Regions from separate parts of the Homo sapiens genome. Here regions 2, 3, 4, 5, 6 and 7 are each linked to region 1. Evidence: promoter capture Hi-C in 16 types of primary human blood cells and fetal thymus (Javierre and others, 2016). All regions are on one chromosome and are shown on one strand. Each heading gives the region's core, a stretch centred on a gene start or on the middle of the fragment in contact. The rest is flanking DNA. Distances are from core to core; before and after follow the strand shown. Region 1 holds the start of PUS7 (pseudouridine synthase 7). Region 2 overlaps SYPL1 (synaptophysin like 1). Region 3 has its middle 38 kb from the start of SYPL1. Region 4 overlaps LHFPL3 (LHFPL tetraspan subfamily member 3). Region 5 overlaps LOC101927902 (a long non-coding RNA gene). Region 6 has its middle 14 kb from the start of SYPL1. Region 7 has its middle 8.3 kb from the start of LHFPL3-AS2.

What was found. The method cuts DNA at HindIII sites, captures the fragments that hold promoters and counts their contacts. A CHiCAGO score of 5 or more calls a contact.
Region 2: a fragment that was not itself captured here is called in contact with the fragment with the promoter of PUS7 in region 1 in 1 of 17 cell types (fetal thymus); the score reaches 5.1 in fetal thymus.
Region 3: a fragment that was not itself captured here is called in contact with the fragment with the promoter of PUS7 in region 1 in 1 of 17 cell types (naive CD8 T cells); the score reaches 5.3 in naive CD8 T cells.
Region 4: a fragment that was not itself captured here is called in contact with the fragment with the promoter of PUS7 in region 1 in 1 of 17 cell types (total CD4 T cells); the score reaches 6.6 in total CD4 T cells.
Region 5: a contact is called between a fragment that was not itself captured here and the fragment with the promoter of PUS7 in region 1, in 6 of 17 cell types (neutrophils, total CD4 T cells, fetal thymus and 3 more). The highest score is 9.1, in neutrophils.
Region 6: a contact is called between a fragment that was not itself captured here and the fragment with the promoter of PUS7 in region 1, in 1 of 17 cell types (naive B cells). The highest score is 5.1, in naive B cells.
Region 7: a contact is called between a fragment that was not itself captured here and the fragment with the promoter of PUS7 in region 1, in 4 of 17 cell types (naive CD8 T cells, total CD4 T cells, activated CD4 T cells and 1 more). The highest score is 5.7, in naive CD8 T cells.

Annotation. Positions count from the first base shown.
Region 1 is chr7:105,519,985-105,524,125 of GRCh38, forward strand. It overlaps PUS7 (pseudouridine synthase 7), which reads right to left and starts at 2,287. Exons shown (of 16, transcript NM_019042.5): 1 at 2,068-2,287. RefSeq lists enhancers at 182-799, 1,114-1,768, 3,052-3,552 and silencers at 1,311-1,456, 1,666-2,415. The HindIII fragment of the contact is 10,027 bases long and covers 1-4,141 here.
Region 2 is chr7:106,103,499-106,107,236 of GRCh38, forward strand. All of the region lies in intron 1 of SYPL1 (synaptophysin like 1), which reads right to left. Among named protein-coding and RNA genes, the nearest start is that of SYPL1, 6.9 kb to the right of the region's middle. The HindIII fragment of the contact is 750 bases long and covers 1,174-1,923 here.
Region 3 is chr7:106,072,154-106,076,497 of GRCh38, forward strand. No RefSeq gene overlaps it. Among named protein-coding and RNA genes, the nearest start is that of SYPL1, 38 kb to the right of the region's middle. RefSeq lists an enhancer at 1-224. The HindIII fragment of the contact is 1,079 bases long and covers 1,377-2,455 here.
Region 4 is chr7:104,879,839-104,883,888 of GRCh38, forward strand. The region is part of intron 2 of LHFPL3 (LHFPL tetraspan subfamily member 3); the gene reads left to right. Among named protein-coding and RNA genes, the nearest start is that of LHFPL3-AS2, 45 kb to the right of the region's middle. The HindIII fragment of the contact is 3,473 bases long and covers 64-3,536 here.
Region 5 is chr7:104,959,687-104,963,631 of GRCh38, forward strand. LOC101927902 (a long non-coding RNA gene) reads left to right here. Exons shown (of 2, transcript NR_187679.1): 2 at 2,298-2,648. Among named protein-coding and RNA genes, the nearest start is that of LINC01004, 30 kb to the right of the region's middle. RefSeq lists an enhancer at 1,668-1,737. The HindIII fragment of the contact is 1,381 bases long and covers 1,062-2,442 here.
Region 6 is chr7:106,124,404-106,128,517 of GRCh38, forward strand. It overlaps the pseudogene DCAF13P1. Among named protein-coding and RNA genes, the nearest start is that of SYPL1, 14 kb to the left of the region's middle. The HindIII fragment of the contact is 479 bases long and covers 1,716-2,194 here.
Region 7 is chr7:104,932,983-104,936,835 of GRCh38, forward strand. No RefSeq gene overlaps it. Among named protein-coding and RNA genes, the nearest start is that of LHFPL3-AS2, 8.3 kb to the left of the region's middle. RefSeq lists a silencer at 2,065-2,229. The HindIII fragment of the contact is 3,456 bases long and covers 447-3,853 here.

The DNA.
Region 1 (4,141 bases), core at 1,037-3,536:
GCTGCTTCATTAATACAGTACATGCATGCCCCTGCCTCTATCAAAAGACACGTTCAAGGCCGGGTGTGATGGCACACGCCTGTAATCCCAGCACTTCGGAAGGCTGAGGCGGGTGGATCACCTGAAGTCTGAAGTTCAAGACCAGCCTGGCCAACATGGTGAAACCCCGTCTCTACTAAAAATACAAAAATTAGGCGGGGCGCGGTGGCTCACGCCTGTAATCCCAGCACTTTGGGAGGCAGAGGCGGGCAGATCATGAGGTCAGGAAATCGAGACCATCCTGGCTAACACAGTGAAACCCCGCCTCTACTAAAAATATAAAAAATTAGCCGGGCGTGGTGGCGGGCGCCTGTAGTCCCAGCTACTCGGGAGGCTGAGGCAGGAGAATGGCGTGAACCCGGGAGGCGGAGCCTGCAGTGAGCCGAGATCGCGCCACTGCAATACATCTCCAGCCCTCAAGCTGGGTGAATGCTTAACGAGTGGATGGAGGTGCTGCCTCTGCAATACATGTGGGCGACAGAGCGAGACTGTCTCAAAATAAATAAATAAATAAATAAATAAATAAATAAATAAATAAAAATACAAAAATTAGCTGGGCATGGTGGCGTGCACATGTAATCCCAGCTACTCCGGAGGCTGAGGCAGGAGAATCGCTTGAACCCAGGAGGCTGAGGTTGCAGTGAGCCAAGATCGTGCCATTGCACTCCAGCCTGGGTGATGGAGTGAGACTCCGTCTAAAAAAAATAAATCAAAAAACAAAGATATGTTCAAGGCCGAGTGTGGTTGCTCAAGCCTGTAATTCCAGCACTTTGGGAGGTCAAAGCAGGAGGATTGCTTAAGGTCAGGAGTTTGAGGCCAGGCTGGGCAACACAGCGAGACCCTGTGTGGTGGCACATGCCTATAGTCCCAGCTACTTGGGAGGCTGAGGTGAGAGGATTGCTTGAGCCCAGGAGTTCAAGGCTGCAGTGAGCGATGATCACGCAACTGCACTCCAGCCTGGGCAACAAGAGCAAAATTCTGTCTCAAAAAAATTAAAAAAATAAAAATAAAAAAACCAAAAACATGTTCACAAGGAGTTGTTAAGTACGTACTGTTGGCTACTTTCCTAATGTTTGAACCTAACAATTGCCTAACCAACCCCTTTTCAATAGTGTTGTACAGTCTGATTTTCGACAGATCCCTCAATAGTCGAGGCTCCCCCAGGCCAATGGGGCATAGTCATTTCATAGATGATTAGAGGCTTGGGGATGGGGGGGAGGGAACCTTAGTAACCCTTTATTTTTGGAATGGAAAAAAAAAGTAGTCTGACGGGACCAAATATTTTAAAAACTAAACTCTTTGCCAACCCTACTCGGCAGGCAACGAAGGTGTGCTTCTAAACACCTCTGCGCAGGGCTGACGAGGAGGACTCGAATTTCAGCTTGCACAGCAGCACCTCCATCCACTCGTTAAGCATTCACCCAGCTTGAGGGCTGGAGAAAGCACTCTGAGTCTGCAGCCCGTCCACTCCTACTCTGGGAAATGCATACAAAGCAAGCAGTCCCCAGAGCCCGCGTGGCGCCTAGTAGGCTCCCAGTGAGCGGCGACGCAGGACACAGGGGTGGAACACGTGGGCTGGACCCACAGAAGGCAGGCGCGGCGAAGCAGTGGCACCGTGAAGGGCTTCAGGGCCAGTGTTCCTCTGACGGAGGGACAAGAGTTTAGGGAGCGTCCGGGGCAAAGAAAGGGAGGAGTGGGAAGGGGGCCCCCGGGGGACAGCGCCGCGCGGGGAGGAGGGGAGCGCTCGGGCGCGGCGCCTCCGGACGACTGGCCGGGCAGAGCGGAGCGGGGAGCGGGGAGCGGAGAGCGGCGCCTGCACCGCCGAAGCGCAGGACCCACTGGGTTCCAACCGTGCTCCCGCTGGCACGATCCATAATGGAGGCGCCGCGGGCTCTGACCACTGCGGGGCCGCCTTCCCAGTCCGCCTTCCCAGTCCGCACTGCCTCTTGGGGCGGGGCCCTGGGGCTGGGGCTGGGGCCAGGGCCAGGCCGAGGAGCCCCGGCGGCCGCGGGGAGGCCGCGCACTTACCCGGAGCCTGGGAGCGCGGGCGCGGCGTGAGCTGGGCGGCGAGGTGGCCAGCGCTCTGGTTGGGACGCAAGAGAGCGGCGAAGGCCACTTGGATGAGCCAGCGGCTAGGGCGGCCAGGCAAAAGCAGCGCTTTCCGCGCGGAGGACCAGATGCGCTCCAGCCGACTCACCGGCGGCCGGGCTCGCACACGTGCGGCGCAGCGACGCGCCGCGGCCCGACTGGACCCGCCCCGGGGGCGGAGTCCGCTCCCTGCCGCCGGCCCCGCCCCCGGCCCACCCACTCGGAGCGGCCTGCAAGCCAGGGAGCGCCCCAACGCGGACTCCCAGCCTACGCGCGTTCACCCTGGACCTTCCTCGCGACCGCGCCTGAGTCGCACCAGCGGCAGAGAGCGATTTCACCAAGCATCTAAGAGTTCTTTAGATCTTTAGGAAGTCTAAGGCAGCGATTGCCTCCTTTGGTGTTATATTCTAAGTGTTTCCTTCACATAGTTGTGGCCCTTTCACGTTGCACCGACCACGCAGTTGACAATAATGGAAAGAGAATCACTTTAGGGACTAAATATTGTTCTACATTTGATCCTGGGAATGTAGTGGATCTAAAAGCACCATCTTCCTACTTCTTACCGCTCTGGCTTGATGGCTTGCCATAGGATCTGCTTCAAGAAACCGGATCATAGGTTTTTTTTGTTTTGGTTTGGTTTGGTTTTGACAGAGTCTCGCTCTGTCGCACAGGCTGGAGTGCGGTGGCGTGAACACAGTTCACTGCAGCCTCGACCTCCCAGGCTCAAGCAATCCTCCCACTTCAGTATCCCAAGTAGCTGGGACTACAGGTGCATCCCACCGCACCCAGGCTAATTTTTTTGGGGGTGGGGGGTAGAGACAAGATTTCACTATGTTGCCCAGGCTCTAATAGTTTTTTTGCTTTTTGTTTGTTTGTTTGTTTTTTGAGACGGAGTCTTGCTCTGTCGCCCAGGCTGGAGTGCAATGGCGCGATCGCTGCTCACCGCAACCTCCGCCACCCGGGTTCAAGCGATTCTCCTGCCTCAGCCTCCCGAGTAGCTGGGATTACTGGCGCACGCCACCATGCCCGGCTTATTTTTTGTATTTTTAGTAGAGTACGGGGTTTCACTATGTTGGCCAGGCTGGTCTCGAACTCTTGACTTCGTGATCCGCCCGCCTCCGCCTCTGTGTTGAGATTACAGGCGTGAGCCACCGCTCCCAGCCTCTAATAGTTTTTCCGTTTTGTTTTATTTTGTTTGAGAGAGAGTCTCACTCTGTTGCAGGGTTCAAGCGATTCTCCTGCATCAGCCTCCCGAGTAGCTGGGCCTACGAGTGCTTGACATCATGCCAGACTAATTTTTTTGACGGGGTTTTTGCCTGTTGGCCTTGAACTCCTGACCTCAAGTGATTTGCCTGCCTAGGCCTCCCAAAGTACTGGGATTATAGGCATGAGCCACCATGCCCTGCCCAATTTGTTTTTTTGTTTTGTTTTTTACACAATGAAATATACTATTACCGGCCGGGCGCAGTGGCTCACGCCTGTAATCCCAGCACTTTGGGAGGCCGAGGTGGGCGGATCATGAGGTCAGGAGTTTGAGACCAGCCTGGCCAACATGGTGAAACCCCGTCTCTACTAAAAATACAAAAAATTACCCAGACGTGGTGGCACGCGCCTGTAATCCCAGCTACTTGGGAGGCTGAGGCAGGAGAATCGCTTGAACTCAGGAGGCGGAGGTTGCAGTGAGCTGAGATCGCACCATTGCACTCTAGCTTGGGCAACAAGATGGAAACTCTGTCTCAAAAAAAAAAAAAGAAATATATTATTACCATACAATTCAGCAATTACACTCCTTGATATTTACCTAAAGGAGTTGAAAACTATGTTCACACAAAAACCTGCACAAGTATGTTTATAGCTGCATTATTCATAATTGCCAAAACTTAAGGACGGGCCGGGTATGGTAGCTCACGCCTGTAATTCCAGCACTTTGGGAGCCCGAGGTGGGCAGATCACGATGTCAGGAGTTCAAGACCAGCCTGGCCAAGATGGTGAAACCCCCATCTCTACTAAAAAT
Region 2 (3,738 bases), core at 299-2,798, 580 kb after region 1:
GTACCCAGTAATGCTACTTGTGAGTCTTGAACACTTTACATGTCACTAATCTAAATTGATATATACTCCAACTGCAAAATACACACTAGATTTTGAAGATTTACTATGAAAAAGATGTGAAATACTTCATTAATTTTTATATTGACGACTTGTTCAAACAATAATCTGGATAGATTGGGTTAAGTAAAATATATTGTTAAAATTAATTTCACCTGTTTCCTCTTATTTTAGTGTGGTTAATAGAACACTGAAAATTACTATGTGGTTTGCATTTTTGCTTCCCATTGTATTTTTTTGTACTGGACAGAGCTAGTTTAGAATGATGCCAAACTGATCTGAAATAAAAATCTGATCATGTCCTTCCCATTTAAAGGAATTTCCTCAATTGTTTTTCAACCTAAATTAAACAAAAAATGCTCCAACTTCTTAATTTGGCATAAAAGGCATGGCTGATCGATCCTCAACTTTATCTTTCTAGATAGATTTATCTGCAGTCTATTCACTGCCAGGTACTGTATGATTCTGTCACATTATACTGCTTACTGTTCCTGAAACATACCATGTATTTATGTCTTAAATGTATATGCTTCTTCTTCTGGGAATGCCCTGTCTCTGATTAGCTCATCTTTTAAGGCCCTACCCAATTCCCTGTGGTAGAACTCATGATTCTTCTCTTGAGCTATCATAGACATTAACTCTATTATATATGAACTCTACTATAGGCATTTTTCTTGTGTAACTTGCTTTCTAAAAAATAAAATGGGGCCGGGTGCAGTGGCTTATGCCTGTAATTCCAACACTTTGGGAGGCCGTGGCAGGAGGATTGTTTGAGCCCAGAAGTTCAATACCAGCTTGGGCAACACAGTGAGACCCTGTCTTAAAAATAAAATAAAATAAAAAAATTAAATGGAAAAATGAATTTCCTAATATAACAAGTAGCAAATAAATGGCATACTGCACTACAGCTTGTTGCTTTCAAGACTATCACTTCTACTGCTCCTTTGCCAGACTGTCATGTCTTTGCACCTGGTTTTGTTTAGGATTTTCAGTGACTAGCAGAAAACCTGGCACATAGCAGATGCTCACTAAATAACTACTTAATTAAGGAAAAAATAATTTCCAATAACTTATAAATAAAACCATATTTTGAATCTTACATAATTATTATTTTAAAGCTTTTTGTTATAAGGATAGATAAATATCATGACAGCAATTCTGGTCTTTATCTTATAGAAAGAAGGGACAAAAGCACATATTTTATATTAAACAAAGTACAAAATTATGAGGGCAAAATATCCAACTATCTCACTTCTCCCTATATTCTACTGCTATTTTGATCTAGACTGGAAGTTATATACTGGCAGCCTGTTGGTAAAACCCGGCCTGCAAATATATTTGTGTGGCCTTTCCAGTATTACAAAAAAATGTGAATTTGTTGTCATTGTTTTAATATCAGGGTATTACACATAAAAATTTGGATTTCCTGCTTTTCCTGAGTGTGTATGGGAAAGCTGAAGAATGGCAACATCAGACCTACATTCTCATAAAGCAACAATCAGAGAGAACTGAGTGACAGATGTCACTTATGGCAGAGTATGTGCTTTCCAGGTTATCCGCTTCTCCATTGTCTTAACAGCCCTCAGGATGTGTGTTAGTTGCCAGTAAGTAATCAATGACATACTATTCTTTTTCTTCCAAACATCTTGCTTCACTCATTTACTTTAGAGGGTGGTTCCTATGACCATTTCAGTTTCCAACCCTAGTCTAAAATGAAGGAGTACTGGTGTTCTGATTTATATTTTCTGGCCACTTTTGAAACTTATTTTCCCATATACTCCTACCCCATGAAGAATGACTGAAACTACTGACATGGAATTCTATCTGCACAGTGACTAGTAAGAATCCAGGGGCGGGGTGACAGCAAGCTTCTGTTTAGTCAGAAAAGTTACATGTTCACATACAGCCCCAAGTATCCAGAGAAACAGTCCCACTTACTTCTCTGCCCACCAGACCCATACTAGATGACCACCATGGCAGATCTTATTCAGAGAATTGTAACCTCAGGGTGAATAGTACAGCCTGGTTTTCCAGAGCACTAGTCTCCAAAGTAGACTGGAGTACCAGAAGAAAATATGTAAACTTCTATTTAGATCTACTTTCAGACTTAAATAAGGAATTGAAGCTTTATTGCAATTAATATACCACTGAAACCCATGCTGGGCATGCACATCAGAAGGTCACATGTCAGTACAGCATGCTGGGTATCCTGAAGGTAAGGGGAATCTCATACATGGAAGGACAGACAGTGATAACCTCATCTATTCTTTCACTTTTAGTGTTCATGCATTACAATGTGAGTGGGCCTGGATTTATGGAATAATTTGTCTAGTTTTAACCAAATCAACCTTCACAAAATTGACCCATGGCTTTAAAATGTCTTCAAAGAAATAGATTGGTAACACACACACTCATGTATAAAAGAGAAAATGGAAGCATTCATACTACTCTATGATTACAATCAACAGCCATATTACAAGGTAAAAACAGACTACTTAATCAGATCACAAGACGGTGGCACAACAATAAAAAATTATCAGAATAGTATCTGAAGCAAGGATTTAAAAATATAAACAAAATTTGCACTGAGTATATAATATACCTTAAGATACTAACTGACATAGTAAAACATGCATCTTAAGTTGTAGATGCATATTGTGGCTCTGTCCATAAAATTTTGCACTAATAGGAGTGCAAAAAAGACTCTGGAGGCTGGGCACAGTGGCTCATGCCTGTAATCCCAGCACTTTGGGAGGCTGAGCCGGGTGGATCACCTGAGGTCAGGTGTTCGAAACCAGCCTGGCCAACATGGTGAAACCCCATCTCTACTAAAAATATCAAAAAAAATTAGCTGGGTGTGGTGGTGGGCACCTGTAATCCCAGCTACTTGGGAGGCTGAGGCAGGAGAATTGCTTGAACCTGGGAGGCGGAAGTTGCAGTGAGCCGAGATCATGCCACTGCACTCCAGCCTGGGCGACAGAGTAAGACTCTGTCTCAAAAAAAAAAAAGACTCTGGAGGCTGGGTGCAGTGGTTCATCTCAGCATTTTGGGAGGCCAAGGCAGGTGATCGTTTGAGCCCAGGGGTTCGAGACTGGCCTGGGTGACATGGTGGGACTCTGTCTCTATAAAAAATTATAGAAGTAGCTGGGGGTGGTGGTGTGTACCTGCAGTCCCAGCTACCCAGTAGACTGAAGTGAGAGAAAAGCTTGAGCCTGGGGAAGTCAAGGCTGCAATTAGTTGTGATCGTGCCACTGCACTCCAGCCTGGGTGACAAGAGTGAGACCCTGTCTCAAAAAATAAATAAATAAAATTTAAAAAGAGTTTGGAGCCTTAACTTCTATTGCTAGACCATGCTAATTCTGAGGATTCTACTGGAGAATACTAGTATTCACCTGGTTTATGAGTGTTGTTTACACGTTTCTAGTTGCAGGATCTTCATTGCTATTTAATTTCATCATTAATCTGAAATCATCTATTTAAATTTCTTTCTGTCCAAGGTTTAGTTTATCAAAGTGATAACTGAAATCTTCAAAAATAGATATAAAAGTATATTATGTATGAGTGTTTACATGCAAAAGAAATGTATGCTGGTTTTAAGTCAAATGATCATTCAGCACTTAAAATGAAATATTATAGCACGTTTGCCTTTACAATCAAAAGATTAGATGCCTAGAGCCAAGG
Region 3 (4,344 bases), core at 666-3,165, 550 kb after region 1:
CATGTTTAAGCACAAAGGTAAACAGAGCATAGCAGCAGGTTACAGAGATCATTTATTTTCCCGCTGATGACAGACATGAGCTCTGGCCCAGGGCCCAAACTTCTTATCCTTGAAAAACACATTTTACAGATTGCCGGCAGAGACAGCCAACCCAGATTAAGCTGCCAGACCTAACTATTTTAGATCTTCCTCCTACTCCTCTGGAAAAAAAAAATATAAGATAACGATTTTTGTCCCTGAAAAACAATGAGAGGAACTAAAGGAAAGCCCGGGCTCTATTCTTAGGGGTCTGCTGCCCTCCAGAAAGCCCAGCGTACAACTTCAGGCAGGCCCATGACACGCCAAGTGTTTGCATTTTGGAAGAATCCTAATAGAATTCCTTCAAGTGGCAGATTCCTGAGGACATTTCAGGATTTATTTACAGATCGTTAACTTACTTGTCACAGAAACCGAAGGGCAGGGAAATTTTGAGCTGACATTTTGGAATGCCACCCTCAAAGGGTGATCAACCAGAAATAAAGATAAAGTGCCTTTGAAATGATAAATATGAAGTAATGGGGACAAGGATTTGTTTCATAGGCACCGTTTCAGAAAAACATCTCTAATGTAAAGTGAAGCCCAGAAGTATATTTTACCTGCTCTTCACTGACTATGTAATTAATGTTTCAGTGACTGACAATTCTCACTTATCACCATAAATTTTTTTCTAGAAATTGCCACATAAATTGGAGCATCATAAAACAGGTTTCTGCAAACTGGTTTGTATGTTTTTTATCATAATAATGAGGTTATAGCCGGGTGCATTGGCTCACGCCTGTAATCCCAGCACTTTGGGAAGCTGAGGTGGGTGGATCACCTGATGTTAGGAGTTTGAGACCAGCCTGGCTAACATGGTGAAACCCTGTCTCTACTGAAAATACAAAAATTAGCCAGGCGTGGTGGCTTGCGCCTGTAATCCCAGCTACTTAGGAGGCGGAGGCAGGAGAATTGCTTGAATCCAGGAGGCAGAGGTTGCAGTGAGCTAAGATCTTGCCATTGCACTCCAGCCTAGGCAACAAGACTGAAACTTCCTCTCAAAACAAACAAACAAACAAACAAACAAATAATGAAGTTATAAATTTGGACTTACATTCTGGGTTAGGGACTTGACATCAAGCACATCAGATATGATTTGATAATTTCTGTCAGGAATGCAATAATAAAATAGCTCTAAACTCCGTGGTCATTATAAATAGTAAACTCATGCTCCAAGCACTATAAAATGGGCATGGGCGCACTGTCTGCATCCCACTGGTTTCCTGTTACCCCACCTGCTGCCTCTTGCTTGACCATGGGCTGTTGATGGAAACTGAGGACTAAACTTATAAGGCCCACCAAGCTTATCTTGCCTTGCTTGCTTTTAGCCGCTTGCTTCTAGCTGATTTTAAAATCCATATAGCTAAATAATATATATCTGCCAGTAGCTTCCTTATAGTTAACAACTCTAAGGCATTGCTCACCATGGTAACAGTTGTTTTTCAGGAAGTGGGGGTCAGTCCTTGTCCACTTCAAACCAGCTGAGACCACCAGCCCTTCAACTGGACCTGTGTGAATGTCCAGTTGATATGGACAGGAGACAGGGAAATACTGGGTAGAAGAGGGTGGTTCCCTGGCAAAGGCCCCACCCTAAAGCCTGGAAACCTGCAGCCTGGAATGAGAACAAGCATTCCTGTTTTCATGCCCAAATGTTGCCTTTTGGTCTGGAACGCCCCCTATCCTGTAGTCATATAAACCCTAAGCCCCAGGCTCTACAAGCAGATGAGCAGACAAACAGAAGAGCAGAAGAGCTGCAGAACGGCGTGGCAGAGAAGGAGAGTAAAGAAGGAGCATCTGAACATCAAGAGGAGTTTGGCTGGGGCAGTCAGGGAGGAGAGATAGGCCATTGGACAGCCAAACTCCAGGGAAAGGTCATTTTCCCACTCCATCCGCTTTCCGGCTCCCTGCTGACAGCCACCTCCACCACTCAATAAAACCCCCACATTCACCATCCTTCAAGTCTGTGTGTGATCTGATTCTCCCTGGACACTGGACAAGAATCCAGGTACCAAGACGGCACTGAGCTGTTTAACATTTAAGCCATCTGCGGATGGCAGAGCTAAAAGAGGACTGTAGCTCATCCACTGGGGCTTCAGGAGTTGCAGGCTCCTACCCCTAGACACCACTGGTGGGCCGGTGCCCAAAAGCGCTCACCCTGATTCCTGCACCTGCCTGCGTGCTCCCTCTCCCGTAAAGGGTTTGAGCACACACAGTGGCTGAACAGACGAGCCACACCCTTGTTGCATGTCCTGCAAGGAGGTTCAGGGAAACCTCCCGTTTCACAGTGGGTGACCTTTTGATGTTGGAGGGCCAAAAACTCCACCCTCAGATCACGCTAATGATCTCATTTTGTTAACGTGCATCCTGTTAAGAGCCATGAAGCTTGACTACACTTGTGCAGGTCACTCATTGCCTTGTTTTCCCTTACTCCAGTCACCTTTCCCCATGCCTCGGACCGCCTTGCTACTCTACCCCATAAATATCCATAAAGCCTCTTCTACGGGGAGGCAGACCTGAGAGGCATTCTCTAGCTGCTCACTTAGCTGCCTCAAGAATAAAATCTTTTCTCCACTGCCAAACTCATCATCTCAGTGATTGGTTTACTGTGTAATGGGCAGAATGTGCCTGGCCACTAACATGCTCACATCTACTTTCTCAATACACTAACTCTGAGGTAAGGAAGGCATATCTTAGTTCCCGAGTTCAACAGATGGGGAAACTGAAGTTCAGGAATACTTCAGCTTTGGAAGCACGGCAGAGACTTAGCAAACAGGTTTTCTTTCAGTGCTTAAGTCCTCACTTTCCAATCTCTGTAGCCCTGCTCGTGACACAGTGGACATTGTGCATTTGCTTGTCTCACATCTAAGGGAACACTGATTTACTTATTTATTTTGAGACAGGATCTCAGTCTGTCACCCAGGCTGGAGTGCAGTGGCACAATCATGGCTTGCTGCAGCATCAACCTCCTGGACTCAAGTGATCCTCCTGCCTCAGTCTCCCGAGTAGCTGGGACTATAGGTACATGCCACTATACCTGGCTAATTTTTTTTTTTTTTTTTTTTTTTGAGACGGAGTCTCACTCTGTCGCCCAGGCTGGAGTGCAGTGGCACCACGTTGGCTCACTGCAACCTCCGTCTCCTGGGTTCAAGCAATTCTCCGGCCTCAGCCTCCTGAGTAGCTGGGATTGCAGGTGCCCACCACCACACCTGGCTAATTTTTATATTTTTAGTAGAGATGGGGTTTCACCATGTTGGCCAGGTTGGTCTTGAACTCCTGACCTCAGGTGAGCCGCCCACCTCGGCCTCCAAAGTGCTAGGATTACAGGCGTTAGCCACCACGCCCGGACTACCTGCTTAATTTTTTGATTTTTTTTTTGTAAAGACAGTGTCTTACTTTGTTGCCCAGGCTCAAGTAATGCCCACTCCTTGGCCTCCAGAAGTGATGGGATTATAGGCGTGAGCCACCGTACCCGGCCTGGGATGCTACTCTAAATGCACATTCATTCTAGCTCCCAAACTACTTTTTTTTCGCTATTTCTAAATCAAAATGCTTTTCGACATTGCTATGTGGAAACTGTGGGTTTTATAAAGTTATAAAGAATAGTTTAATAAGAAATTACACCCAAGAAAAGTATAAAACACATTACAATATAAATGTGACCTGGCACTTAGAATAAACATTTGCTTTGCAATACTCTCATTTGTTTTTTTCCTAGAATTTAAATGAGACTTTTTTGGAACCAGATTTTTAAAATAAACAAATGAACAACTGTCCCTAAGAAACCTTAGCTGACACCTTTTTTGTTTCTGTCTTAAAGTTCCCAGCCAAGGTTTTCAAAATCTTTCCCCTGACCTCAGAACTGCTGGAAGTGGTGCAGTGCTGACTGACAGTTTGTTGACAAGAGAGGCAACACTTCACACTTCACTGGAAAGCATAAAAGCGTGCTCCAGGTCATTAACTGAGACTTTTAAGAGGAACTGCTTGCTGCATTATGATAGTGGGATTCAGGAACATTTCTTTGCAATTCGTACAGTTTTGTTGTTTTTTCACAAAATGGAATTCAAATGCACAGAATGCAATTAATAAAAATTCTTGATTCATGGCACACTATCATCATTGGCCCGTGAATGGCCTTATTTTACTTTATATCACATTTAGTAATGAACACCTGGTAAAACCAAGGCCCAACCAAGAACTAGAATATCACCACCATTTTACCTTGACCTAAGGGAAAGGGAAGGGCACCCACTCTATCTCTGCCCTCTGGCT
Region 4 (4,050 bases), core at 550-3,049, 640 kb before region 1:
ACATTGGAAGAAGATGCCATGTAGCACTTTCACAGCTAGACAGAAGTCAATGCCTGGCTTTGAAGCTTCAAAGAGCCAGGTGTGATGGTATGCCAGTAACTCAAGCTACTCAAGTGGCTGAATCAGGAGGATGGCTTTAGCCCAGGAATTGGAGGCCAGCCTGGGCAACATAGCAACATAGTGAGAACTCTGTCTCTTCAAAAAAAAAAACCAAAGACAGGCTCTCTTTTTAGGGGCTGATAAGGTTTGGATATCTGTCCCCTCTAAATCTCATGTTGAAATGTGATTCCCAGTGTTGGAGGTGGGGCCTTAGTGGGAGGTGTTTGAGTCATGGGGGTGGATCCCTCATGAATGGCCTGGTGCCCTCATGGTAATGAGTGAGTTCTTGCTCTAAGTTCACATGAGATCTGGTTGTTTAAAAGAGTGTGGCACTTCCCCCCTCCCTCTCTCATCATGTGATACATTGGCTCCCCCTTTACCTTCCACCAAGATTGGAAGCCTCCTGAGGCCTCATCAGGAGGAGATGCTGCTGCCATGCTTGTACAGCCTGCAGAACCATGAGCCAAATAAATCTCTTTCTGCATAAATTACCCTGCCTCAGTTACTCCTTTATAGCAACACAAACGGAATAATACAGGGGCTGATACAGCTGGGGACTAAGTTGAAGCCAGTGCTCATTTACCATTCTGAAAATCTTAGGGTCCTTACAGATTATTCTAAATCTACTCTGCCTGAGCTCTAGAAATGGAACAACAAAGCCTGGGTGACAGCACATCTCTTTACAGCATGGTTTACTTAATATTTTAAGCCCACTGTTGAGACCTACTGCTGAGAAAAAAAAAAAAAGATTCCTTTCAAAAAAATTTTCTTTCAAAATATTACTGTTCATTGACAATGCAGCTGGTCACCCAAGAGCTGTAATGGAGGTATATAAAAAAATAATAGTAATGTTGTTTTCATGCCAGTTAATCCAATGTCCATTCTGCAGCCCATGGATCAAGGAGAGTAATTTCTACTTTCAAGTCTTATTATTTAAGAAATACTTTGTGTGGCCAGGCGCGGTGGCTCATGCCTGTAATCCCAGCACTTTGGGAGGCCAAGGCGGGTGAATCACGAGGTCAGGAGATCAAGACCTTCCTGGCTAACACAATGAAACCCCATCTCTACTGAAAATACAAAATATTAGCCGGGCGTGCTAGCAGGCACCTGTAGTCCCAGCTACTTGGGAGGCTGAGGCAGGAGAATGGCGTGAACCTGGGAGGCGGAGCTTGCAGTGAGCCGGGATAGCACCACTGCACTCCAGCCTGGGCAACAGAGTGAGATTCCATCTCAAAAAAAAAAAAAAAAAAAAGAAATACTTTTTGTAAGGCTATTGCTGCCATAGATAGTGTTTCCCCTAATGGATCTCAGCAATGTGAATTGAAAACCTTCTGGAAAGTATTCTTCAATCTAGATGTCATTAAGAACTTTTGTGATTCATAGAAGTTAATAAAAATTCAAAGTTAATAGAATTTATAAAAATATCAACATTAACAAGAGTTTGGAAGAAGTTGACTCCAGCCTTCAAGGATGACTTTGAGTCTTGACTTGATTTCAAGACTTCCGTGGAGGAAGTAATGCAGATGTGGTGGAAATAGCAAGAGAACTAGAATTAGAAGTGGAGCCTGAAGATGGGACTGAATTGCTGCCATCTCATGATAAAATTCAAATACATGAGGAGTTGCTTCTTATGAATGAACAAAGAAAGTGGTTTCTTGAGATGGAACCTACTCCTGCTGAAGTTGCTGTGAACATCATTGAAGTGACAACAAAGTATTTCAAATTTTACATAAACTTAGTTGATAAAGCAGCAGCAGGGTTTGAGAAGACGCACTTCCATTTTGAAAGAAGTCATATTGTGACTAAAATGCTATCAAACAGCATCACGTGCTATAGAAAAATCTTCCATGAAAGGAAACTTCCTTGTGGTCTTATTTTAGAAATTCCACAGCCACCTCAGCCTTCAGCAGCCACCACCCTCATCAGTCAGCCGCCATCAACATGGAGGCAGGACACCTCCATGTTTACCAGCAAAAATTCGTTCATTAATTTATTTTTAAATTAAGTATGTATATTTTTTAGATGTAATGCTACTGCGCACTTACCAGTCTACAGGATGCTATAAACATAGCTTTTGCACTGGGAAACGAAAACTTCTGTCTTTATTGTGATATTCACTTTATTGCAGTGGTCTGGAACCAAACCCTCAATATCTCCAAGGTATGCATTTATATATCCACACAGAATACTATTTGGCAATAAAAAAGGATGAAGTACTGACACATGCTACCATATGGATGAACCTTGAAAACATTAGGCTAACTGAAAGAATCCAACCACTAAGCACTACATTTCATTTATTTATTTATTTACTTATTTATTTATTTAGAGATGGAGTCTCACTCTGTCACCCAGACTGGAGTGCAGTGGCATGATCTCAGCTCACTGCAGCCTTCACCTCCCAGGTTCCAGCGATTCTCCCGCCTCAGCCTCCCAAGTAGCTGAGATTACAGGCACACACCACCACACCCAGCTAATTTTTGTATTTTTAGTAGAGACAAGGTTTCATCATGTTGGCCAGGCTAGTCTCAAACTCCTGACCTCAGATGATCTGCCCACCTTGGCCTCCCAAAGTGCTGGGATTACAGGCGTGAGCCACTGTGCCCAGCCTGTACCACATTTCATTTATATGAAATGTCCAGAATGGAAACATCCATAGAGACAGAAAGTATCTTAGTGGTATCCAGGGCCTGAGGGGAGTGGAGAATGGTGAGTGACTGACAGTAGGTATGGGGTTTTCATGGTGATGAAAATATTCTAAAATTAGATAGTGGTGATAGTTGTACAACTCTATAGGTATACTAAAATCACCGAATTGTATACTTTTAAGAGGTGTTTTATGATATGTGAATTATGTCTCAATAAAGCTGTTATTTTTAAAAGTTTCTCTCCCACAAGACTTCCTAGTGGGAAATAAATCCTGAAGATGGGGGAAGGGTATGATTTATATTGTAGTTAAGGCGACTGGCTGCCTCATTTGCCTGGGACTGAAGGCATTCCCGCATGTAGAACTTTCAGTGCTAAAACCAGAAAAGTCCTGAGCAAACCACGCAATGTTTGAGACTTACTTATACTAAAAAACTGTCAATGTTTATCGGAAATTTAACTAGGCATTCTGTATTTTTATTTGCTAAATCTGGCAACTCTATGATGATCCAATTTATTCAGATCAAGTTGAAACAAAGAGCTAGAATTAAGAGAAAAAGCAAAGAGAAACTAAAAGAGTTTGGAGTTAAGGAAAAGAGCTCCCAAAGCATTTTCTAACCTTGGCCAAGACTATGGCAAGATAGTTTTGCCGAGATCTCTTTTCATAACATTCTAACGTTCCCTCATTTCCAAAGTATGTATCAAAGAGTTCATATTGGAGGACTCTTAAAAACTGATATTAATAGTTACATGAAATAATATGTTTCTTAAAGGTATTTCATCTTGGATGAAGCTTAAATTAAGCTTCCTCCTGGCAGCTGAGTGCATGATGAATTGTATTATAAGTAAGTCTATTTTTAGCCCACTAGTGCATTGGCAGACAGGCTGTTAAAAATAAAAGCAGGCCTAGTAGAATACAGAAGCCCGGGGAGCTTTTCCTTACTATTTAATGAAAATGAAGCGGGTTCTCTGAGCCTATATGGTTGGAGGGAAGGTGAGGTGTGTGCAGCTGTGATCAGGTTACAAGGCAGTGGCTTGTAATTTATAAATTAGTGTGTAACGTGTCACTGAGGCAGAAGCTGAGGGACGTAGCACTAACGGGAGTTTCCTGAAATTGCTCAGATAATGGGAGAAAAGAGTTTGCGTGTCTGATCAGGTGGGAAGTGTGATATTTTAAGAATCTTCCATATTTCCCTGCTGGGGAGCTAGGACTCAGTTCATTGCTTGTTCTTGCCTGGACGCCGCACACCAGGTTAGCAGCCACCAGGGGGCACCAAAGCAGCCCATCCCAGAGGAAAGCGTGGG
Region 5 (3,945 bases), core at 502-3,001, 560 kb before region 1:
CTATGCAGCCATAAAAAAGAATGAGTTCATGTCCTTTGCAGGGACATGGATGAAGCTAGAAACATCATTCTCAGCAAACTAACACAGGAACAGAAAACCTAATACTGCATATTATCACTCATGGGTGGGAGTTGAACAATGAGAACACATGGACACAGGGAGGAGAACATCATACACCAGGGCCTGTTGGGGGGTAGGGGGCAGGGGGAGGGATAGCATTAGGAGAAATACCTAATGCATGCGGGGCTTAAAACCTAGATGACGGGTTGATGGGTGCAGCAAACCACCATGGCACATGTATACCTATGTAACAAACCTGCACGTTCTGCACATGTATCCCAGAACTTAAAGTATAATAATAATAATAATAATAATCCAGAGCAATTCCCTCCTGCCCTGTCTGAGATTTGATGTAAAAAATGCGTCTTCCAGGCTGGGCACGGTGGCTCACGCCTGTAATTCCAGCACTTTGGGAGGCCGAGGCAGGCGGATCATGAGGTCAGGAGATTGAGACCATCCTGGCTAAGATGGTGAAACCCCGTCTCTACTAAAAATACAAAAAAATTAGCTGAGTGTGGTGGCAGGTGCCGGTAGTCCCAGCTACTCGGGAGGCCGAGGCAGGAGAATGGCGTGAACCCGGGAGGCAGAGCTTGCAGTGAGCCAAGATGGTGCCACTGTACTCCAGCCTGGGCGACAGAGCGAGACTCCATCTCAAAAAAACCAAAAATAAATAAATAAAATAATGAAAATTTAAAAATGCTTCTTCCGGCCAGGCGCGGTGGCTCACGCCTGTAATCCCAACACTTTCGGAGGCCGAGGCAGGCGGATCACCTGAGGTCAGGAGTTCAAGACCAACCTGGCCAACATGCCAAAACCCCATCTCTACTAAAAATACAAAAATTAGCAGGGCATGGTGGCGGGCGCCGGCAGTCCCAGCTACTTGGGAGGCTGAGGCAGGAGAATGGTGTGAACCTGGGAAGCAGAGCTTGCAGTGAGCCTAGATCATGCCACTGCACTCCAGCCTGGGTGACAGAACAAGACTCTGTCTCAAAAAAAAAGAAAGCTTCTTCTAGGGAGGTTTAGTCTCAGGCTGGCTCTCCAGGCCCAGAAGGGGTCATCTCAAATTTCTGCTCTTTGTGGACAGAGCTAATCAAATACTTTTTGGGTAGGGACAGCAGACATTGCCATATTCAGCTTCTTGAAGCTCCTTCAGACAGTGGAAGCTGGACCTTGAAGCTCCCCTAACAAATAATGTAGCAATTGTTGAGAGTCCTCATGGTCATGGGATAATGCTTGGCAGTCAACAGGGGCTCACATTCTGAAATAAGTAACGCCAACATGGTCATGCTTACTGAAAACTGTAAACTACTTTGAAGCATACAGAAATGTGTATTCTGAAATAAGAGACAGGCTGATAAAAGAGGAAAAGAAAAAGGGGTTTGCTTGGTTCTTAAGAGACAGGGATGGGAGTTCCCTGTAAGCAGAGTTGCACAAGAGATGGTATGGAGGCAGAAAAGAGGAAGCAGGGAGCAAGGCAAGGCCAAAGTCAACTGAAACAGGAAAACTAGCCAGAAAGCACATTGCTTGCTCTTTGAAGACATTTCCTTCAAGTTCTGCCTTGCCCCAAAACCTAACCCAGGCCAGGGTGGTGAGCGCTCTCACCTCTGAGCCTCTGACACATGGACTGCATGTACTGCTATTGCTCCTTGGCATATGGCCCAATTTTCTGAAATCATAAGCATTTCTGTGCAACCATCCTGTCACTCCAGTTAAATTTCAAGACAGATTTTTTTTTTGAATAGTATATCCTTAGTGGAAGAAATAGGAACCATTTTATTTTATTCATTTATTTTTTTTGAGACGGAGTCTTGCTCTGTCACCCAGGCTGTAGTGGAATGGCGCGATCTTGGCTCACTGTAACTTCTGCCTCCTGGGTTCAAGCCATTCTTCTGCCTCAGCCTCCTGAGTAGCTGGGATTACAGGCGCCCGCTACCACACCCAGCTAATTTTTTTTTGTATATTTAGTAGAGACGGGGTTTTGCCATATTGGCCAGTCTAGTCTCGAACTCCTAACTTCAGGTGATCCACCCACCTCAGCCTACCAAATTGCAGGGATTACAGGCGTCAGCCACCGCGCCCGGCTCCAGACTGGGTTTTTTAGCAAAGAAGGAATTAATACAGGGAAGTTGGTGCTCATGAAATAGTTGAAAGTACTGAAGGAATAAGCATGTAGGCTGGGGCCTTCTGGAATGTCTACCTGAATGCCACAGAACTGACCCTCATTTCCCTCCCTCCAGAAGCTACAACCTCAGCCCAGATTAGCAGGCTGAGGGGTCAGGAGGCTGTCACTGGAGCTGTTGAGCTCATGAACACGCCGAAGTTGCTGCGCTCCAGAAATGTGGAAGTTGGAATGAAGAGCCACCACTGCTGCCACCAACATGAAGCTTGACCAAGCAAGCCAAGAAAAGATGGCCAAGAGCCTCTGCCTTCCTTCTGCCTTCTGCAACGCAATGGTGAGCTGCACATCCACAACTTGAAGGGAGTCTGGGAAATGCAGAGTTAAACTTTCTAGCCTCTCTAAGCTTTCAACTGTTACAGAAAGGCAACCCAGGAGGAGACTGGAATAAATGCTGAGTGCCAATTTCCAACACAAGTAGTCATTATAATTGGGGTGAGTGTTATCTTGCCCTGGCTCAGGGGTAATCTTGTGTTGGTTCTGTTCATCCCCACCAAAATCAAGTGCAGGGCTTATTCTCCCTTCCCTAACCATCAGGTCACTAGGGGTCCAGGGCCTCACCTTCCTTCTCAAGAGTTAATGAGCATTCCAGGATGTTGTAAGGAAGGACTGTCCATATGGAATAGGGAGGACACAAACCCAACATTTTGCTCTGACTGTTAGCCAATAAACAATGTCCTGGTTGTTGCTTGCTGTCAGGCATAAGTCCTCACTAGACACCTACCAGAAGGCAACTAACCCAATGGTCTGGCATAGGCAAAGGGGCTTACTAAAATGTAGGCTGGCACTCACTTCTAGCCCTCTCCTCCTGTCCCCACCACCTCTCTGTCTTATCACTTCCCTTCTATCTCCCCTCCTCCCTCAGCCTAGAGAATATTTTTCTAACTTAGGTAAGGAGCTTTGCTGTTATTCCTGATGTTTTCTCCTAAATCTTTTACCAGTTTGTTCTCTCCAGTTCACTAAGGATCTAGACCAGTGGTTTTCAATCTGCAGCCTACATCTGAGTCACCTGGAGGGCCTGTTAAAACACAGAACGTGGAGCCCAACCCCCAGAGGTGCTGATTCAGTAGGTCTGGGGTAGGGCCCAAGAATTTCCCTTTCTAACGAGTATCCAGGTGATGCTGATGTGGTCTGGAGACCATACTTTGAGAACCACCGGCCCAGGCTTTTGAAACTGAAAAACTTTGCTTTCTGCTTGTAAGACCCATCTCTTAGATAGGAGCAAAGAATGGTTTGTCTGTTCAAATGGGGAGATGGAATAGAAGAAAAAAAATCTAGAAGAAAAAAATCAAAATCAATGTTTTAAAAATAGTATTCTAGCATTCAGTAGTAATAATATAACCCCTTTGCTATGCCTTTAATATCTGGAAGAGAGAAGCTTGAGTACTTGCAAAATCTTGCCCCTGGATGGTGCAAAATAATGTCTCATTTTCCTCTTGAGTCTTTTGTCTTTGCCAAATCTATCTTAGAGGACAAAAAGGAGCAAGTCCTTCCTCCCTGCTTTCCTCTGTCTCCTCTTCTCTTTCCTCATGATGCTTCGGTCTCTTCTGTTATCCCTTGGCTCACCCCTCAGTCTTGATTTTTCTCACTCTGTGTTCCTAGCTGTCAGTCACGTGGACCTAATCCAGTGTTCTCCCAAGTAGAGGGGCTTAAGCTACTACTTTCAGGCTGTGCTGAGTGATATACATACAATGCCTCATTGACAATCC
Region 6 (4,114 bases), core at 705-3,204, 600 kb after region 1:
AAGACAGACTTAACTAAAGGGAAAAGTTCTAGGCTGCCAAAGAGCTGTAAAAGGGATAGTGAATGCCTGGGAAGTATGATGGAGAAGCTGCTCAGTATTGAAAAAAAGGAAAATGCAAAGCAGAGCTAAGGCAACTTGGATTTATGATACAAGTTAGCTTGGGGAAGACTGAACTCTTAGTATCTTTCATTTCATTATTTGCCAATCATTTGAGAAGAAAAACCTGAACATTTCATACATTCCTTCTAGCATTTACTGATCACTCATATGTACTGGACACTTTGTTAAGTGCTGATCATACAAAGTAGACCTCAAAGAGTTTATTTTAAAGGGAGAGATAGGGCTGGGCGCAGTGGCTCATGCCTGTAATCCCAACACTTTGGAAGGCCAAGGCAGGTGGATTGCTTGAGCTCTGTAGTTTGAGTCCAGCCTGGGCAACATGGTGAAACCCCATCTCTACAAAAAATACAAAAATTAGCTGGGTGTGGTGGCCTGAGCTTGTAGTCCTAGCTACTTGGGAGGCTGAAGTGGGAGGATGGCTTGAGCCCAGGAGGTGGAGGTTGCAGTGAGCCAAGATCACACCACTGCACTCCAGCCTGCGTGACAGACCCAGGCCCTGTCTCAATAGAATAGAATAAAATAAAATAAAATAAAATAAAATAAAGGGAAAGATAGGACAAAAACTATATATATTTTCAAGTTGTGATAAGTGCAGTGAAGAACACAAAACGTGCTTTTTATATATATTTTTTTGTTTTCTGCTTTACAATTAGATTGCCCTGCAAAATCTATGGCAAAACAGAGAAAAATTGGTAAGGGCTGCAGTCTTCATAATCTACATAAAAACTATGATTGACTCAGGTCCTGTAGGAGGAAATTTCTGGGGATAATCCTGTGACACTCTCAGTACTCTTTGAAATTCTATAGAGCAAAGAGCTTGTGGAGTCTGGCAGGAAGAGCAACGAAGGTGAAGGTGAAGACATTGAGCTGGAATCCGGACAACTATGTCCGCAAAACCAAGTTGGACTTACAGATTATTCCAAGAAACTGTGATCCTACCTTACATCCTTTTGAGGTCCTGCAAGAATGTGTAAGAGTTTTAAATGCTACCAAACTGGAAGGAGTATTTGCAAAACCATGCCTGGCTTGGCTGGATGGTCACGAGATGGAGTGAGTTGCTTGGCAAAGCATCCAAAGATCCTGGCTACTCTCCTTTCTAGGGGATGTGATGGAGCAGTTAGAATTTGGAACCTGACTCAGCTGAAATGTATCCGTATAATACAAGCACATGAAGGTTTTGTACAGGGAATACGTGCTCACTTTTGTGGGACTTCTTTTTTCACTGTTGGTGATGACAAAACTGTGAAGCAGTGGAAAATGGATGGGCCAGGCTACGGAGAGGAGGAAGGGCCATTACATACAATATTAGGAAAGACAGTGTATACTGGGATTGATCATCACTGGAAAGAAGCTGTTTTTGCCACATGTGGACAGCAAGTAGACATTTGGGATGAACAAATAACTAATCCTATAAGTTCAATGACCTGGAGATTTGACAGTATAAGTAGTGGTAAATTTAATGCAATTGAGACATTTATCTTGGGAAGTTGTGCTTCCGACAGGACTACAGTACTGTATGATATGAGGCAAGCTACTCCTCTGAAAAAGGTTATCTTAGATATGAGAACAAATACAGTCTGTTGAAACCCTATGGAAGCTTTCATTTTTATGGCAGCAAATGATGATTATAACTTATTTACTTTTGATATGCGTGCACTCATGTAATGGTCCATATGGATCATGTATCTGCAGTGCTTGATGTGGATTACTCTCCCACTGGGAAAGAGTTTGTGTCTGCTAGTTTCAATAAATCTATTTGAATCTTTCCTGTAGATAAAAGTCAAAGCAGGGAGGTATATCACACAAAGTGAAAGCAACATGTTATGTGTGTAAAATGGACTTCTGACAGCAAGTATATTATGTATGGATCTGATGAAATGAACAGTTACCTATGGAAAGCTAATGCTTCTGCAAAATTTGGTATGCTTACATCACAAGAAAAAGCAGCCAAGTATTATAACCAGAAACTGAAGGAGAAATTTCAGCGTCATCCTCATATACAACCGATAGCTCGTCATTGACATCTACCAAATTCTGTCTACAGCCCAATTCAGGAACAGTGCATCATGAAAGAAGCTTGTCGATGAGAGGAAGTGAATCACGTTAAACACAGCAAGCCTGGATCTGTGCCAATTGTGTCAGAGAAGAAGAAACACATAGTGGCAGTTGTAAAATAATATTTGGTATTCCTAACAATCCTGATGTATAATTAGTTGTTACTTTGATTTGAGAACTCTACAAATAAAAGTGCTGGGACTAGATTAATGGTAAACATTTCAGTTATGTATGTAGAGCTTTATTGTTGCTCCTTTTAGCTACCCTGATAAATGATTCTTAAAGGTGGCCTAGTTGATAAGACTGTCGTTTTATCCTTAATCTGTGTTCTTCTTTCATTGAAGGATACAGTACTTACAGTACTAGAAACTAACTCATTTTTTCCTGATTTTTTTTTTTTTTTTTTTTTTTTTTTAGACAGAGTCTTGCTCGGTCGCCTGAGCTGGAGTGCAGTGGCGCAATCTCGGCTCACTGCAACCTCCGTCTCCCAGGTTCAAGCAATTCTCCTGCCTCTGCCTCCCGAGTAGTTGGGACTACAAGTGCTAATTTTTGTGTTTTCAGTAGAGACAGGGTTTCACCATGTTGGTCAGGCTGGTCTTGAACTCCTGACCTCGTTATCCTCCCGCCTCGTCCTCCCAAAGTGCTGGGATTACAGGTGTGAGCCACTGCACCCAGCCATTTTTTCCTGCCTTTTGTTTTTGGAGATGGTGTCTCGCTCTTGTTGCCCAGGCTTGAGTGCAATGGTGCGATCTTGGCTCACTGCAACCTCCACCTCCTGGGTTCAAGCGATTCTCCTGCCTTAGCCTCCTGAGTAGCAGGCACCTGACACCATGTCAGGCTAATTTTTTTTTTCTTTTTTGTATTTTTAGTAGAGACAGGGTTTCATTATGTTGGCCAGGCTGGTCTCGAACTCCTGACCTCATGATCTGCCCGCCTTGGCCTCCCAAAGTGCTGGGATTACAGGCGTGAGCCACCATACCCGGCCTTTTTTCCTTTACAGATATACTTACTTTCTCTCTGATCTATTATTGTAGACACTGTACATTCAAATTGACATTTAAGACCCAACATTTCTTCTGATACCTTTAATATTACTTTGAAAATGATTGCAATGATGTTTCTTCCTATGATTCCACATAACATTTAGAAGAATGATGTCAACTGCTTATAACTGAATTTATTTCTAGTGCTTTATTTTTATTTGGCTTTTTGACTCTTTCAAAACAATCAACCTGCATTTATATAACTTTTATAAATAATATTATAATTTGGGTCAAGTTAAGATAATAAAACTTCCTTTCACCATTGAAAAAAAAAGAGAAATTCTGTAGACTCAACATTCTAAACACTGAGGGGCTCCTCAGAGCCAATTCTAATAATTAAACAGGTGTGATTAACTGCTGCCTGTGTGGTTTAATGTTAAACCCTACCTTCTGTTTGCTATGCCCACCCACTATACGATGCCCACCCTCCTGTTATATATCCCAAAATTCCAGGCTTGAGAATTCTAATAGACTGGCCTGAGAAGAAGAAAACAGGGAAATGTGATTAGTCATGAAGCAGCTGGTGACAAGGAGAGAGGAATGAGGAATATGCCCAGAGCCGTGGAAATAAACTAACAAGAAAACTGACTGAAGATGCTCCACGTAGGAGAGTGAATTCGCACCATTTCAACATCAGTAACTTAGGTAATGAGAAGAGGGAGAGTGGTGAACAGAATTCCTTTTAAGTTTAATAGTGTGGGGGCTGCATGCAGTGGCTCATGCCTGTAATCCCAGCACTTTGGGAGGATTGCTTGAGCCCAGGAATTTGAGACCATCTTGGGGAACATGGCAAGACCTTATCTCACTAAACACACACACACACACACACACACACACACACACATTAGCTGGGCACAGTGGTGCATGCCTGTAGTCCTAGCTACTTGGGAGGCTGA
Region 7 (3,853 bases), core at 925-3,424, 590 kb before region 1:
CACACACACACACATACACACATGCATACATGCACACATATACATGCATATACACACATGCACACATGCACACATACACATGCATACACGCACACATGCACACACATACATGCATACATACACGTACCCACACATACATGCATGCATACACACACGCATACACACAGGCATATACACGCACACATGCACATGCACACATATACACATACACGCATACATACACATACACACATGTACACACATACACATGCATACACATACACACAAACATGCATACATACACATACACACACATACACATACACACATACACACACGCATACACACATGCCTACGCACACGTACATACACATTCACACATACACATACACATACCCGCATACACATACACACACACACACATTCACACAGGTGTGCTCCAGAGCCTCTCCACATAGGAGACGAAAAGCTTTCATAAGGAACCAAAAGTTGTATCTTCTGCATTTCAAAGGGAGAAATACCAGGACCTGTGAACTGAATGCAAGTATCTATTTTGCCCCATTTGACACTACGTCCAGTGTCAAAGGTGTCCTGGGGGTGCTGACCCAGCACTGGACTGAAATGAAGTTGCAGATGTATATTACTACATGTTTCTCATCACCTCCTCCTCCTTAGTCTCGTGAAAGGGATATAACTTTAAGGCCCTTCCCTTTCTCATTTCCTCATTGTGACATCAAGAACACCCTTGAGACCATACTGTGCCTTTAAATGATTAAATGCGTTTAATTTAAATGATACAGCTTCCAAGGGAAAAAGGAACAAGGGGCAAGGGGAGGGGAAGGGGAGAGGTCACTCCTGCTTTCGGCAATTGAAGGGACTGACTGCCAGCCTCTCCCCTCCGCAGGGAGTGTTCCAGCAGCCACGCCCCTGACTCACCTGCCTCATTCTCTTAATGGTACCCACCCTCTCCAAATCTCTTAATGGTACCCACCCTCTCCAAATTGCCCAGACTGGGAAACCTGAAACCATCTTTGTCTTCTCTTTCTTTTTCCCCTCATTCCTAAACATCTATTTCGTTGTCAAGTTCTGTGGGATTTTTCTTTTTCTTTTCTTTTTTTTTTTTTTTTTTGAGACACAGTCTTGCTCTTTTGCCCAGGCTGGAGCATGATGGCACAATCTCGACTCACTACAACCTCCCTCCTCCTCCCCAGTTCAAGTGATTCTCATGGCTCAGCCTCCCGAGTAGCTGGGATTACAGGAGCGTGCCACCACGCCCAGCTAATTTTTGTATTTTTAGTAGAGACGGGGTTTCACCATGGTGGCCAGGCTGGTCTCCAACTCCTAACCTCAAGTGATCCGCCCACCTCGGCCTCCCAAAGTGCTGGGATTACAGGTGTGAGCCACCGCACCCAGCCTTGGGTTCTTTCTTTTCAAACACTTTCCCACACCCCCATTCCTCCCTTTCCATTTCCATAGCAACTACCCTGAGGCCTTTACCTCTCACATTTGAACTGTCAGAGCCTCCTGTTTACACTTTCCCACCCACCTTCTCCTTAATTCCTCCTAGCCCATTCTTACCAATGGGATTCATATCCTTGACAGATGATTTGCTTTGTTGCCCTCCTACTACAAAACTCTCAAGGGATGCCCTTTGCCTATCAAAGGCCACTTCTTTGGCCTGGCAGGAAAAGCCATCACATCATTTGGCTGTGTCCTGCTCTCCTACCCTTTTCTCACCCTGGCTGCTTCTGTCCACCTCCCAGACATTCAAGTGATTTAGTCTTCCGTGGAATGCCCGCCTGTCCCTGGAATTCTACACCTGGAATGCCCAGCCATTCTCATCTTTACTTTTGGAATCAGAAGGACTATTCAAAGCAAATCTCCATAAATCTGTCACTTATCTTGCAACCACAAGAAAGCACTCTCTCGACTATATCTTTGTTCTTTGTACCTTTCACCCTGTATTTTATTATCTGGTTAAAGTGCTATTGGAGCCGGGCACGGTGGCTCACACCTGTTATCCCAGAACTTTGGGAGGCAAAGGCGGGTGGATCACTAGGTCAGGAGTTCAAGACCAGCCTGGCCAAGATGGTGAAACCCCGCCTCTACAAAAAATACAAAAATTAGCCAGGTGTGTTGGCGGGTGCCTGTAATCCCAGCTACTCAGGAGGCTGAGGCAGAGGATTGCTTGAACCCAGGAGGCGGAGGTTGCAGTGAGCCAAGATTGTGCTACTGCACTCCGGCCTGGGCAACAGAGCGAGACTCCGTCTCAAAAAAAAAGAAAAGAAAAGAAAAGAAAAGTCCTATTGGATTACAATTCCTAGGGCACAAAGGCTGAGTTTTGTTGGTCACTGTACTGCCTGTAGCTCCAGAAAATTCTGAATTTATGTGAGCTCCACTAAGCAATTATTTCTATCAAATACTACTAGCCCAGAAGCCTCAGAAGTTCACCCACTTCCTGAATTCCCAGTGATGACAGAGTGGACATTTACCCTTGCAGAAGGAGGCTAGACTGTTGTCATAGGTAGAATTATGACCCCAGCAAAATTCTGTGTTAAAGTCTTAACCCCTAGTACCTCAGCATATGACATCTAGAGGCCAAGGAAAAAGTTCCCTTTTGCCCTCTCAAGTTTCACTGACAACTCAACTCATTGAAAGGCAGGTTAACTGGAGAAAAGCAACACACATTTATTTAACATGTATGCACAGGAGTCATCACAATGAAGACCCAAAGATGCAGGGGAAATTGTCCATTTTTATGCTTAGTTTAATAAAGTATGGACAACCGTGTAGAAATATGATTGGACCTAAAGGGGATCTACTGCTAATAGACTGAGGGGGGAAACCCAGCAAGGCCTCTCTGTCTAGATTCTTCTTGGCCTCCCTGAGCCGGCATTCCTTCTGGGTGTGGGGCAGGACTCTCCCTGGAATGGGGGTCTTATGACTATAATCAAGCAAGGTAGGTCAGATAATTTCTTTCATTTTTTCTTTTTTTGAGACAGGGTCTCATTCTCTCACCCAGGCTGGAGTACAGTGGTGCAATCTCGGCTCACTATAACCTCCACCTGGAATTGGTTGCTTCTGAGGCCTTCATTTTGGGTTGCTGTTTTCTGAGCCCTGACATACCTTATTCGGAGATGAGATCTTTACCAAGGTAATTAGGTTAAAATGAGGAGCAACCAAAGTTCTTCTCTGAATCCCATCTCTAATCCAATTTGACTGATGTTTTTATAAAAAGGGAACATTTGGACAGAAACCAACATGGATGGAGAGAAGATGATGTGAAGACACAAAAGGAAGGTTGTCTACAAGCTAAGGAGTGCAGGAGGCTACCAGAAGCTAGAGAGAGGTCTCCAATAGATGCTTCCTCACAGATCTCAGAAGGAATCAGCCCTGCCAAAGACGTGACTTTCAGACTTCTAGCCTCCAGAGCTACAAGACAATATACTTCTGTTGTTCTAAGCCACCTAGTTTGTGGTGCTTTGGTAAGGCAGCCACAGCATACTACACAGCTGGAGTCCTGAGAAGCCAGAGGGCCTCCAAAGTGAACCCCATCTCAGGGCTGGGGCCACAGGTCCTGGGAGGGCAAAGGTAAGGCTCTGAGATGCCCTGAGCAGAAGAACAGAGGCACTTACGGCTCCAATGAGCCAAGCGGAATGGCTGGTCAGCCACACAGGGCGTGGGCCAGTAGTTGGTCCACCTGACACAGGCCTTTGAAGACAGCGTTTTGTTTCTGCAAGTGGGCAGGGGAGGGTGGCATGGAGACAGGGGCAGGAAACTCTGCTGAAGGGCAGACCGTTCTTCCAGGCCCCAGGTGCTTCCGGCCAGACTCTTTTAAAGAGACATGGAAGGACATCATCAAACGTGGCAGCGT